Regions from separate parts of the Homo sapiens genome. Here region 1 is linked to region 2. The links are contacts of gene promoters, found by promoter capture Hi-C in human tissues and cell types (Jung and others, 2019). All regions are on one chromosome and are shown on one strand. Each heading gives the region's core, a stretch centred on a gene start or on the middle of the fragment in contact. The rest is flanking DNA. Distances are from core to core; before and after follow the strand shown. Region 1 holds the start of CGB2 (chorionic gonadotropin subunit beta 2). Region 2 holds the start of TEAD2 (TEA domain transcription factor 2).

Region 1 (5,190 bases), core at 2,404-4,903, 330 kb before region 2:
CTCAGCCTCCCGAGTAGCTGGGACTACAGGCACCCACCACTATGCCTGGCTAATTTGTTGTATTTTTTAGTAGAGACGGGGTTTCCCCGTGTTAGCCAGGATGGTCTTGATCTCCTGACCTTGTGATCTGCCTGCCTCGGCCTCCCAAAGTGCTGGGATTACAGGCATGAGCCACTGCACCCGGCCCAATTTTTTTTTTTTTTTTTTTGAGACAGAGCCTCACTCTGTCTGGCCAGGCTGGAGTACAGTGGCACAATCCTGGCTCACTGTAGCGCCTGCCTCCTGGGTTCAAGTGACTCTCCTGCCTCAGCCTTCTGAGTAACTGGAATTACAAGCGCCTGCCACCGTGCCCTGCTAATTTTTGTATTTTTAGTAGAGATGCAGTTTCACAACATTGGCCAGACTGGTCTCAAACTCCCAACCTCCAGTGATACTCCTGCCCTGGCCTCCCAGAGTGCTGGGATTATAGGCCTGAGAAACCACGCCTGGCCCCAAACAAATTGCTTTAAGACGAGGTCTCCCTATGTTTCCCCACTGCACTTGAACTCCTGGGCTCAAGCCATCCTCCTGCTGTGGCTCCTGAGTAGCTGGGACTACAGACTCAAGCCACCACGCCTGGCCACATTCCACAATTTAGAGAAAGTGCACAACCTGGAATCCTAGGGAGACCCCGATTCACCTCAAAACTGCCACTAAGGAGGTAAAACGCTGCCCCTCTGAGGCAGGCTTCAGTTTCCCTGTGTGTGAAATTGACCTGGCGCTGGGAGAGGCTGGTGGAGGCGCGGATTTTGCAGTTTCCCTACAACATTCTGGAAGCCTGTGGTTCTGGGAAAGGTTGGCGTGGAGAAGACTGGGAAACAACCAGTGGTCACCAGAGCTGTAGCACCTCCTCCACCTCCGAGCTCTGGGGCTGGGAACCCCAGGCTTCGGGGCCCCTGTGGAGGACGCAGGTGGCCCCCTCTTTCCTGACATCTCAGGAGAGGGAGGGGCAACCGGCTAGCAGAAGAAAAGCACAGGAAGGTTATACAGCCAGGTGGGGAAGGGGCCAAATCCCTGAACAACCCCTTCCCAGAGTTCCTCTTCAAGTGCAGGGTACCCAAGAGTCAAGGCCCCGCCCCCTTTCCAGAGGCCCCTTTTCTACCCAGGTGATGGGTCCTAGCTGGGATGGGAGGCAGATGGACGGAGGGGAGGGGGGAGGAGGGGAAGGGAGAGGCAGTGGATGAAGGAGGATGGAAGAGATGACATCCCCCTCGGCCCATTCATCCCATTCAGGTCCCCAAGCCGCGCCCCTCTCCGCCCCACCTGCACTGCCAGTGCCAACATCAGAGGGAGGAAGAGGGAGCTCGGCTTAGAAGGCTGAGGCCCTGCCACCTGGGCCACACCGATCACGTGGCCTTCCTTCTCCCCACAGAAGGCCAGACCATGGACACCTCCTGAGCTGGAGGTCATCCTGCATCTCCACCCTGTTTTCTTTTTCTTTCTTTCTTTCTTTTTTTTTTTTTTTTTGAGATGGAGTCTCGCTCTGTCGTGGAGGCTGGAGTGCAGTGGCGCGATCTCTGCTCACTGCAAGCTCCCCCTCCTAGGTTCACTCCATTCTCCTGCCTCAGCCTTCCAAGTAGCTTGGACTACAGGGGCCCGCGACCAAGCCCAGATAAGTTTTTGTATTTTTAGTAGAGACGGGGTTTCACCGTGTTAGCCAGGAAGGTCTCGATCCCCTGACCACATGATCCGCCCGCCTGGGCCTCCCAAAGTGGTGGGATTACAGGAGCGCAGCACCACGCCCAGCTAATTTTGGTATTAACAGTAGAGATGTTGTTTCACAGTGTTGGCCAGGCTGCTTTTGAACTCCTGACCTCAAGTCAAACACCCGCCTCAGCCTCCCAAAGTGCTGGGACCACAGGTGTGAGCCATAGTGCCTGACCTGTAGTTGTTGAATATTTATTATTAATCTACAAGTTGGGTGTGATGCAAGTCCCATACATGGAGTCCCCCAAACTTCTAGAGCAAGGGCTTCCCCATAATCCTGGCAGGCAGGCCTCCCCTGGGGTTCCCAACTTCTGACCTCACTGAAGTGTTTATCCTCTTCTCTAATCCCAGCCTCCTTTTCCCTGTTTCCATGTCCTCTGAGAGATGCTCCCGCTCCCCCAGGCTCCCTCTGCATCCCCCTCATTTGCTTCCTCCCCAGTGTGTCAATGGAGTCCTAACCCCCACCCTTGACATTGTCCCCTTTTCCTCCTCCAGAGTGGGACCTTATTTTCCCCCAAGTGGTCCTGTCTAGGGGTGCCGCTGCCGGGCCCCCTCTGGTCTTCCTGCTGGAGACTGGGGCCTTTTGGGAGTCAGCAGGCACCCGGGCCAACCGCAGCCAGCGAGGGGTGAGCGATACTTCACCGGCGAGTCATCAGGGTGAGCTGGCCGTGTGCGATGCAGTCAGTGTCTGGGTGACAGACCCCCGGACCGCTGTGGACTTGGTTGTGCTCGAGGTGGAGGTGTTGGGTGAGGTGCCTGCAGCTGGCAGCAGTTCCCTCCACCAACACTTCTTTGTCACCTGCTTCAAGGCCGATAACTCTGAAGAAGGTGGCCCAGGGGTAGGTGGAGGGGCTGCCGCTGGGGTGTGGACCGGGGGGCACTGGGTGTCTGAGTGCAAGGCCAAGCAGTCCTATGTGCGGGCATTGACCGCTGATGCCCAGGGCCGTGTGGACTGGCGATGGATTCAAACTGGCACAGCCTGTGTCTGCACACTCCTCAGCCGGACTGGCCGGGCCTGAGACTTATACCCAGGAACTGGTCAGGCAGAAAAAGAACAGAGCTGGATGCTGAGAGACCTCAGGGTTGGCCCAGCTGCTCTACGGACGGACCCCAGTTGGGGAACTCATCAAATCATCGCAAAATCACAACTCTCTGAATTTGAGCTCAATCTCTGTAGGATGGGTGCAACAACGTGGGGTTTTGAAGGTTGAATAGGAGCTCTCCCAGGGGAACTTGAGGGTAATCATGATGATGATGATAATAATAATAGCCACTATTTACTGAGTGTTTACTCTTTCGTAGCCCTAATACATAACTCCTCGGATCAACTCTCATGGATTTGATCATTGGTGACCTTTGGTGTTAAGTTGCTGACTGCTCAGTCACAGAGGACACCACCTTGCTCATCCTGGGGAGTGGGAGGGCACATTTCACGATGTGCATGGGGGAGGAGGGAAACTGGAACATGCAAGCAGATGGCCAGGGGACCTTGAGGACATGGTCTACAGAAGGCCTTTAAGTATCTGGGAGCTGGGGTTCAAATGAGAAATCTTACTTGGTGAGAGTGGGCAGGGGTCGGCTTAGAATATTTTGTTTTGAGATAAAGAGCTACCGATCACACGGGGAGTATAAGCAAGGTTCAATGAGAAGTGATCAGGATGCTGGAGAGTTCAGCCCTGGGCGGGGAGCTCAAGTCAGGTTTCTAGCCCTCTTCCCTGTGCCAACCTATACCCTACACTGGGAAAGAAACAGACCTTAAAATTGTCCAGCTTGATGGCATCGCGGGGAAGGGACTAAGTCCAGATAATGTCCTCTGAGGCTGAGGCCTCGGGGGCAGGACACACCTCCTGCGGGCCTATTCAATAATCAGTTAAATCACCTGAAGCACACGCATTTCCGGGGACCGCTCCGGGCATCCTGGCTTGAGGGTAGAGTGGGCAGAGGTCCCTAAGGGAGAGGTGGGGCTCGGGCTGAATCCCTCGTTGGCGGCACCAGGGTCAAGTGGCTAACCTGGCAGCACAGTCACGGGGAGGCCCTCTCTCATTGGGCAGAAACTAAGTCCGAAGCCGCGCCCCTCCTGGGCGAGGAGGTTCCACCTCCTAGGTTCCTGTGATTCTCCTGCCTCAGCCCGAGTAGTGGGACATCCCACTTGCTCCCGCCATTCTGTTTACCACAGGTGACGACCGCCATGGCTGACAGGCAGGGAGGTCCCCCGAGGACCGAGCAAGCCTCGGTCTCCCAAAAAAAAAAAAGATACATTGAAGTAATTTAAAAACACTTAGGAAGATGTCATTTCTTCCTATCAAGGCGTCCTCCCTTTATGTTTTGTTATTATATAGGGAACGATAAAAAAATTTTTTTCTCAACCAATGTGGACCCGGTTGGCCTCGAACTCGTACCCTCGAACCCTCCCCTCCCTGAGGGCCCGAGGGCACGCGCAACCGGTCGGAGCCACAATAGCTCGGGGTGTCGGGGATCTCCTTTCTTCCTTTTGACCTTACGCAGGGTGATGGAGCCAATCAGGAGAGGCTCACCCCTGACGTCACCCAGTCCCCAGGGCCAGTGAGGGCCCTGCGTTCCGTGGCGCCCCCTGGAGGGAGGAAGGGGAACTGTATCTGAGAGAGAGCAGCCAATTGGGTCCGCTGACTCCGGCCGGGTTCCCGTGCCGCGTCCAACACCCCTCACTCCCTGTCTCACTCCCCCACGGAGACTCAATTTACTTTCCATGTCCACATCCCCAGTGCTTGCGGAAGATATCCCGCTAAGAGAGAGACATGTCAAAGGTAGGGTAGATCGACATTTCCAGGCACCAAAGATGGAGATGTTCCAGGAAAGACTGCAGGGCCCCTGGGCACCTTCCACCTGCTTCCAGGCCATCACTGGCATGAGAAGGGGCAGACCAGTGTGAGCTGTGGAAGGAGGCCTCTTTCTGGAGGAGCGTGACCCCCAGTAAGCTTCAGGTGGGGCAGTTCCTGAGGGTGGGGATCTAAAATGTTGGGGTATCTGAGATCCTCTGGGCTGTGGGGTGGGCTCTGAAAGGCAGGTGTCCGGGTGGTGGGTCCTGAATAGGAGATGCCACGAAGGGTCTCTGGGTCTTTGTGGGTGGTGTACCACGCGGGATGGGAAGGCCAGGACTCGGGGCTGCGGTCTCAGACCCGGGTGAAGCAGTGTCCTTGTCCCAGGGGCTGCTGCTGTTGCTGCTGCTGAGCATGGGCGGGACATGGGCATCCAAGGAGCCGCTTCGGCCACGGTGCCGCCCCATCAATGCCACCCTGGCTGTGGAGAAGGAGGGCTGCCCCGTGTGCATCACCGTCAACACCACCATCTGTGCCGGCTACTGCCCCACCATGGTGAGCTGCCCGGGGCCGGGGCAGGTGCTGCCACCTCAGGGCCAGACCCACAGAGGCAGCGGGGGAGGAAGGGTGGTCTGCCTCTCTGGTCAGG
Region 2 (4,752 bases), core at 2,253-4,752:
CCCAGCCTAAAGCTCTTTATCAATTATCCAGCCTTGCCAGGCACAGTAGCTCACGCCTGTAATCCCAGCAATCCCAGCACTTTGGGGGGCTGAGGTGAGTGGATCACCTGAGGTCAGGAGTTCGAGACCAGCCTGGACAACATGGTGAAACCCCATCTCTACTAAAAATACAAAATTACCCAGGCATGGTAGTGCATGTCTGTAATCCCTGCTACTCGGGAGGCTGAGACAGGAGAATTGCTTGAACCCGGGAGGCAGAGGTTGCAGTGAGCCAAGATCGCGCCACTGCACTCCGGCCTGGGCAACAGAGCTAGACTCCATTTCAAAAAATAAACAAATACATAAATAACCCAGCCTCGGGTAATTCTTTATAGCAATACAAACGGACTAACACACATGCCGAGAAGACAGATGAACGCACAGGAAGCAGCTTCTTCCTTGAACCTGAACCTGCCCATGCGAGGATGACCCTAAGAAGACCGGCCCATCCCAGACAGAAGCCCACAAGTCCATTCCGAGACCTGTTTTCGAGTTCGGGTCTTCCCCGTTCTCAGCTTGATGTAGCGGGCGATCAGTTCATTCCGACCTGAAGATTCAAAGACGGAACAGAGTTAGTTAGACTTTCAACAGAACTTCCCCACAGCATGGACACCAGGGAAGAAGAAAGCAGCATGGGTCCCCAAAGGTCTGCAGCAAGTGGGCTGCCGGTCCCCTCAGCTACGTGGAAGCCAGACTGCTTGGGTTCAAATCCCAGCTCCATCACGCACTGGCTCTGTGCGACCATAAGCAAATCACTTAACCTAGCTGTGCCTCAGTTTCCTCATCTGTGCAAATGGTGATGCTAGCTCCTACTTCAGAGTGCTCCATAAACCTTGGTTACTGTCATTATTCATCAGTGGGGGCCAGGGCAAAAGACAGAAGTAGACTCACCATACATCTTGCCTTCATCAGACAAAATTATTTTCCGGCGGCCGCAGGGTGGATAGATGGCCAGGGCCTCCTGGAAGCTCTGCTCAATGTCTGGGCTCCACACCCCCTCTGCATCCGGGCCCCCGTCACCCCCAGCCCCCTCACTGCCGCCGGTACCCTCCTCACTGCCTTCCTCACTGCCCGTCCAGCCGCTGCCATCGTCCAGGGCGGCCCCAGCCCGGGGTTCCCCCATCTGGGCCTGGAGGAACACAGAACTCAGCAAGCTTCCCCCAAACCCCACCCTCAAGGGACTTGAAGCTGAGAGGGCTGGGACTCTGGACCACTGGGTCTGAGGGAGGAGGGGCTGGGGACCTGGACTCCTGGGTCTGAGGGAAGAGGAGCTGGGGGGTATTCCTGGGTCTGAGGGAGGAGGATCTGGGGCCTGAACTCCTGAGTCTGAGGGAGGAGGGGCTGGGGCCCGGACTCCTAGGACTGAGGGAGGAGGATCTGGGGCCTGGACTCCTGGGTCTGAGGGAGCGGGGGCTGGAGGCCTGGACTCCTGGGTGTGAGGGAGAAGGGGCTGGGGTCTGGACTCCTGAGTCTGAGGGAGGAGAAGGAGCTGGATTTCTTGGAAAGCTGAGGATGGGAGTGTTCTCAGAGTTTCCAGAGGAACTCAATTGTGATGAAGTCACAATGATTACCCTAGAGTAATGCCGAGGGCCATGAAGGCTAAAGGTTCGGGTATGAATTACGGGTTTTAAAGAAGACAGGAGGCAAAAGTTAGTGGTGGGGAAGGAAGGTGTGGGTGAAACTTCCCCTGTCCCACCCCAAGAACAGGTGGTAAGATGTGAGCAGCAGCTGCCAGAAAAGAAGAGGGGCCAAGCAAGACTGAGGGGAGGTCTAGAGAGAGGGGGACAGAGACCCAGAGAGGGAGGGGGACAGAGACCCAGAGAGGGGATGGGGACAGAGACCAGCAAGGGGGGGGGACAGAGACCCAGAGAGAGAAGGGGACAGAGACCAGAGAGAGAGGGGGACAGAGACCAGTGAGGTGGGGATAGAGACCCAGAGACAGAGGGGGACAGAGACCAGAGAGAGAAGGGGACAGAGACCCAGTGAAGGGGGGGACAGAGACCAGTGACGGAGGGGACAGAGACCCAGAGAGAGAGGGGGACAGAGACCAGAGGGAGGGGGGGACAGAGACCAGAGGGAGGGGGGGACAGAGACCAGAGAGGGGGACAGAGACCCAGAGAGAGGGACAGAGACCCAAAAAGAGAGGGAGACAGAGACCCAGGGAGAGGGGGAGACAGAGACCAGAAAGAGGGGGACAGAGACCGGGGGGGGGGGACAGGGACCAGAGAGAGGGGTCCAGAGGCCCAGAGAGGGAGACAGAGACCCAGAGAGAGAGGGTGACAGAGACCCAGAGAGAGGGGGACAGAGACCCAGAGAGAGAGGGACAGAGACCCAGAGAGAGAGGGGACCAGAGACCCAGAGAGAGGGGGACACAGACTCAGAGAGAGGGGGACAGAGGCTCAGAGAGAGGGCAACAGAGACCCAGAGAAAGGGAGACGGAGACCTAGAAAGGGCAGGGACAGAGACTCAGGGCAGCAGCTGAGGCCGAGACCAGGAGAGACCCACAGAACCACAAGCTGGGGGACAGGGGCGCCCTGCCATCAGAAGAGCCAGAACAAAGGGCCCAGGCGTCCCCTCCCCCAGCTTCCCACAACCCCCATCAGGGGAGGGGCTTGCCGGCCAGGGCGACTCCCCTCCGGCACCGGGCCCCGCCCCTCCCCTCCCCCGTGCGCCGTGGGCTCTGATCCAACTCAAGTTCCCAGTGACTTTCCGGAGGCCGGGAACAGGGAAAACTTTTTCCAATACAGTCAGATCCCGCCTCCCCGGAGGCTCCATGTCCTCCACAGCTTTCCCAGGACCCCAGAGTCCAGGCCCCTATTCCCCTCCTCCCGCCGACCATAGCAGACAAAGACCCCAGCCAAGCCCAGTGGCGCTGCGGCGTTCAGGACCCCCGTAGGCCAAAATCCCAGCCCAGCCCTTCCCCATGTGGCCAGACAAAGGGACGGTGGAGCCGGGTAAGAAAGGTCCCCCTAATTTCCCGCCCCAGACCCTAAACCTCCAAAGAGGCAAGACTTAAGATCCAGAAAGCCCCGTAACCTCCCCTCGGCCACCCCAGAGGCCCTCCCTTCTCCGTAAGAAGGACCAAATGCCCCCCAGATTACACAAGGGGTCCTTCTCACTCCAAAGTGACACCGCCGCAGACGCACGCCCCACACCCCGCCAGCGCCCTTGGCCCGCACCCGCTCCTGCGCGCACGCCCAAACTCAGACCCAGCCGCAGGCACCCTAACTCCGGCCAGAGTTCCCACTCCTCACTGAGGCTCGGTCACGGGAGCAAATTCGGGCCCCCGGGCAAAAAGAGGGCTGCGAACCATTCAGAGACGGTCCCGCAAACGCACGCCTCACCTCCTAAGAAGCAACTCCCCACCCCAACTCACACACCCCAAAGCAGGATCCCCGACTCCCGCCGGCGCCTTCCTACCTCCCGGCCTGGGGCTGGGGAGCCGCGGGCGGGCGGGGCGCTGCGAGGGAGAAAGTTGCCGGGAGCTTTGTTTGGGAAAAGTGGGAGGGACCGGAGGGGGGGGCGGGCCCGGCCGGCGGACAGCGGGAAGGGGGATCCGACGGTGACAGTTTGGGGAAGGATTTTTGCTTTGGGAGAGATTAGTCTATCTCGGGGCTGGTAGGAACTCAGGATTTGGGTGCTTGGGAAAGGAGGGGGATTGGGGGTTCGGACTCCAAGTCGGAGGGAAAAGGCTGATAGGAGCCAGAAACCCCTGATCTGAGGGAGGAGAGGCTGGGGGCTGGGACTCCTGGGTCTGGGGGCTGGGACTCCTGGGTCTGGGAGAGGAAGCGGCTGGAGAGAGATATGGGCTCCTAGGTCTGAGAGGGGACGGGGCTAGGCGCCTGGAATCCCGGCTACCCTCGTGTTTGTGTATTGGGGGTGCGGAAGTGATACGAATACAAAGAGTCTTTACTGTTAAGCCCTGAGGTTTTTTTTCTTTTTTTCTGTTTGGTTTTTGGTTTTTTTGTTTTTTGTTTTTTTTGTTTTTTTTTTTTTTTGAGGATTGGGGTCTGGGGATGGGTTTTGACTGATTCCTATGACGACCTGGTTTCCTTGTGACCTCACCACAGTTAAGAGTCGTGGGCAGGACCACCGGGAGTTTATTGGAGGCCCACGTAGGTGCAGATTCCTCATCTACAGGCGCTAGTGGACTGGAGACGGCTGGCGGCTGTCCCGGGACGGGGAAGAGAGCTTTGGTGCCTGAGGGAAGATGGCTTAGGGCCCGGTCCCTTAAGGGTGAAAGGCTGCGTGTTCAAAATTACGGGACTAGAGGGGGCGGGAGTCCGGACCTGAGGTCCTCAGGGAAAAGGAAGTCTGATTCTGGGTTCCTTGGAAGATGAAATATAAGACTGGATTTAGGGTTTCCGGAGACAACGGGACTTTTTAGTGGAGCGGGAGCGGGAAAACCAGAAGGGACACGGAGAAAAGGTTCCGAAACAGATACACAATTAGAGTGAGAGCTAAAAGGGATGCTTGTACTCCGGTGTCTCCAGTAGGAGGAGCCTAGGACTGGAACTTGGGGTGATGAGGGCAAGATCTGGGACGCAGGGGCGTGGTCCAGTGCAGGGGCGTGGCCCAGTGCAGGGGCGTGGCTTTCAGCCAAGGGGCGTGGCCATTGCGATTGGGCGGGACTCCGAAACGAGGGCCGCAATCAGAGAACACCGCCAGGACTTCCAGGACTTGGTCTCCAGGACTGAGGTCAACTGACGTGGG

What was found. Contacts are between HindIII fragments. The study calls those that stand out against the background at their distance.
Region 1: a contact is called between a fragment that was not itself captured here and the fragment with the promoter of TEAD2 in region 2, in 1 of the 25 tissues and cell types used here (lymphoblastoid cells).

Annotation. Positions count from the first base shown.
Region 1 is chr19:49,027,576-49,032,765 of GRCh38, forward strand. It overlaps CGB2 (chorionic gonadotropin subunit beta 2), which reads left to right and starts at 4,315. Exons shown (of 3, transcript NM_033378.2): 1 at 4,315-4,529; 2 at 4,929-5,096. The coding sequence starts at 4,521. It overlaps SNAR-G2 (small NF90 (ILF3) associated RNA G2), which reads right to left and starts at 4,212; the gene lies at 4,094-4,212. It also overlaps the pseudogene NTF6G. The HindIII fragment of the contact is 6,350 bases long and covers 479-5,190 here.
Region 2 is chr19:49,358,914-49,363,665 of GRCh38, forward strand. It overlaps TEAD2 (TEA domain transcription factor 2), which reads right to left and starts at 3,503. Exons shown (of 13, transcript NM_001256660.2): 1 at 3,420-3,503; 2 at 931-1,168; 3 at 522-586. The coding sequence starts at 1,162. It also overlaps a transcript of DKKL1 not described here. RefSeq lists enhancers at 832-1,332, 1,878-2,587, 2,588-3,296. The HindIII fragment of the contact is 13,886 bases long and covers 1-4,752 here.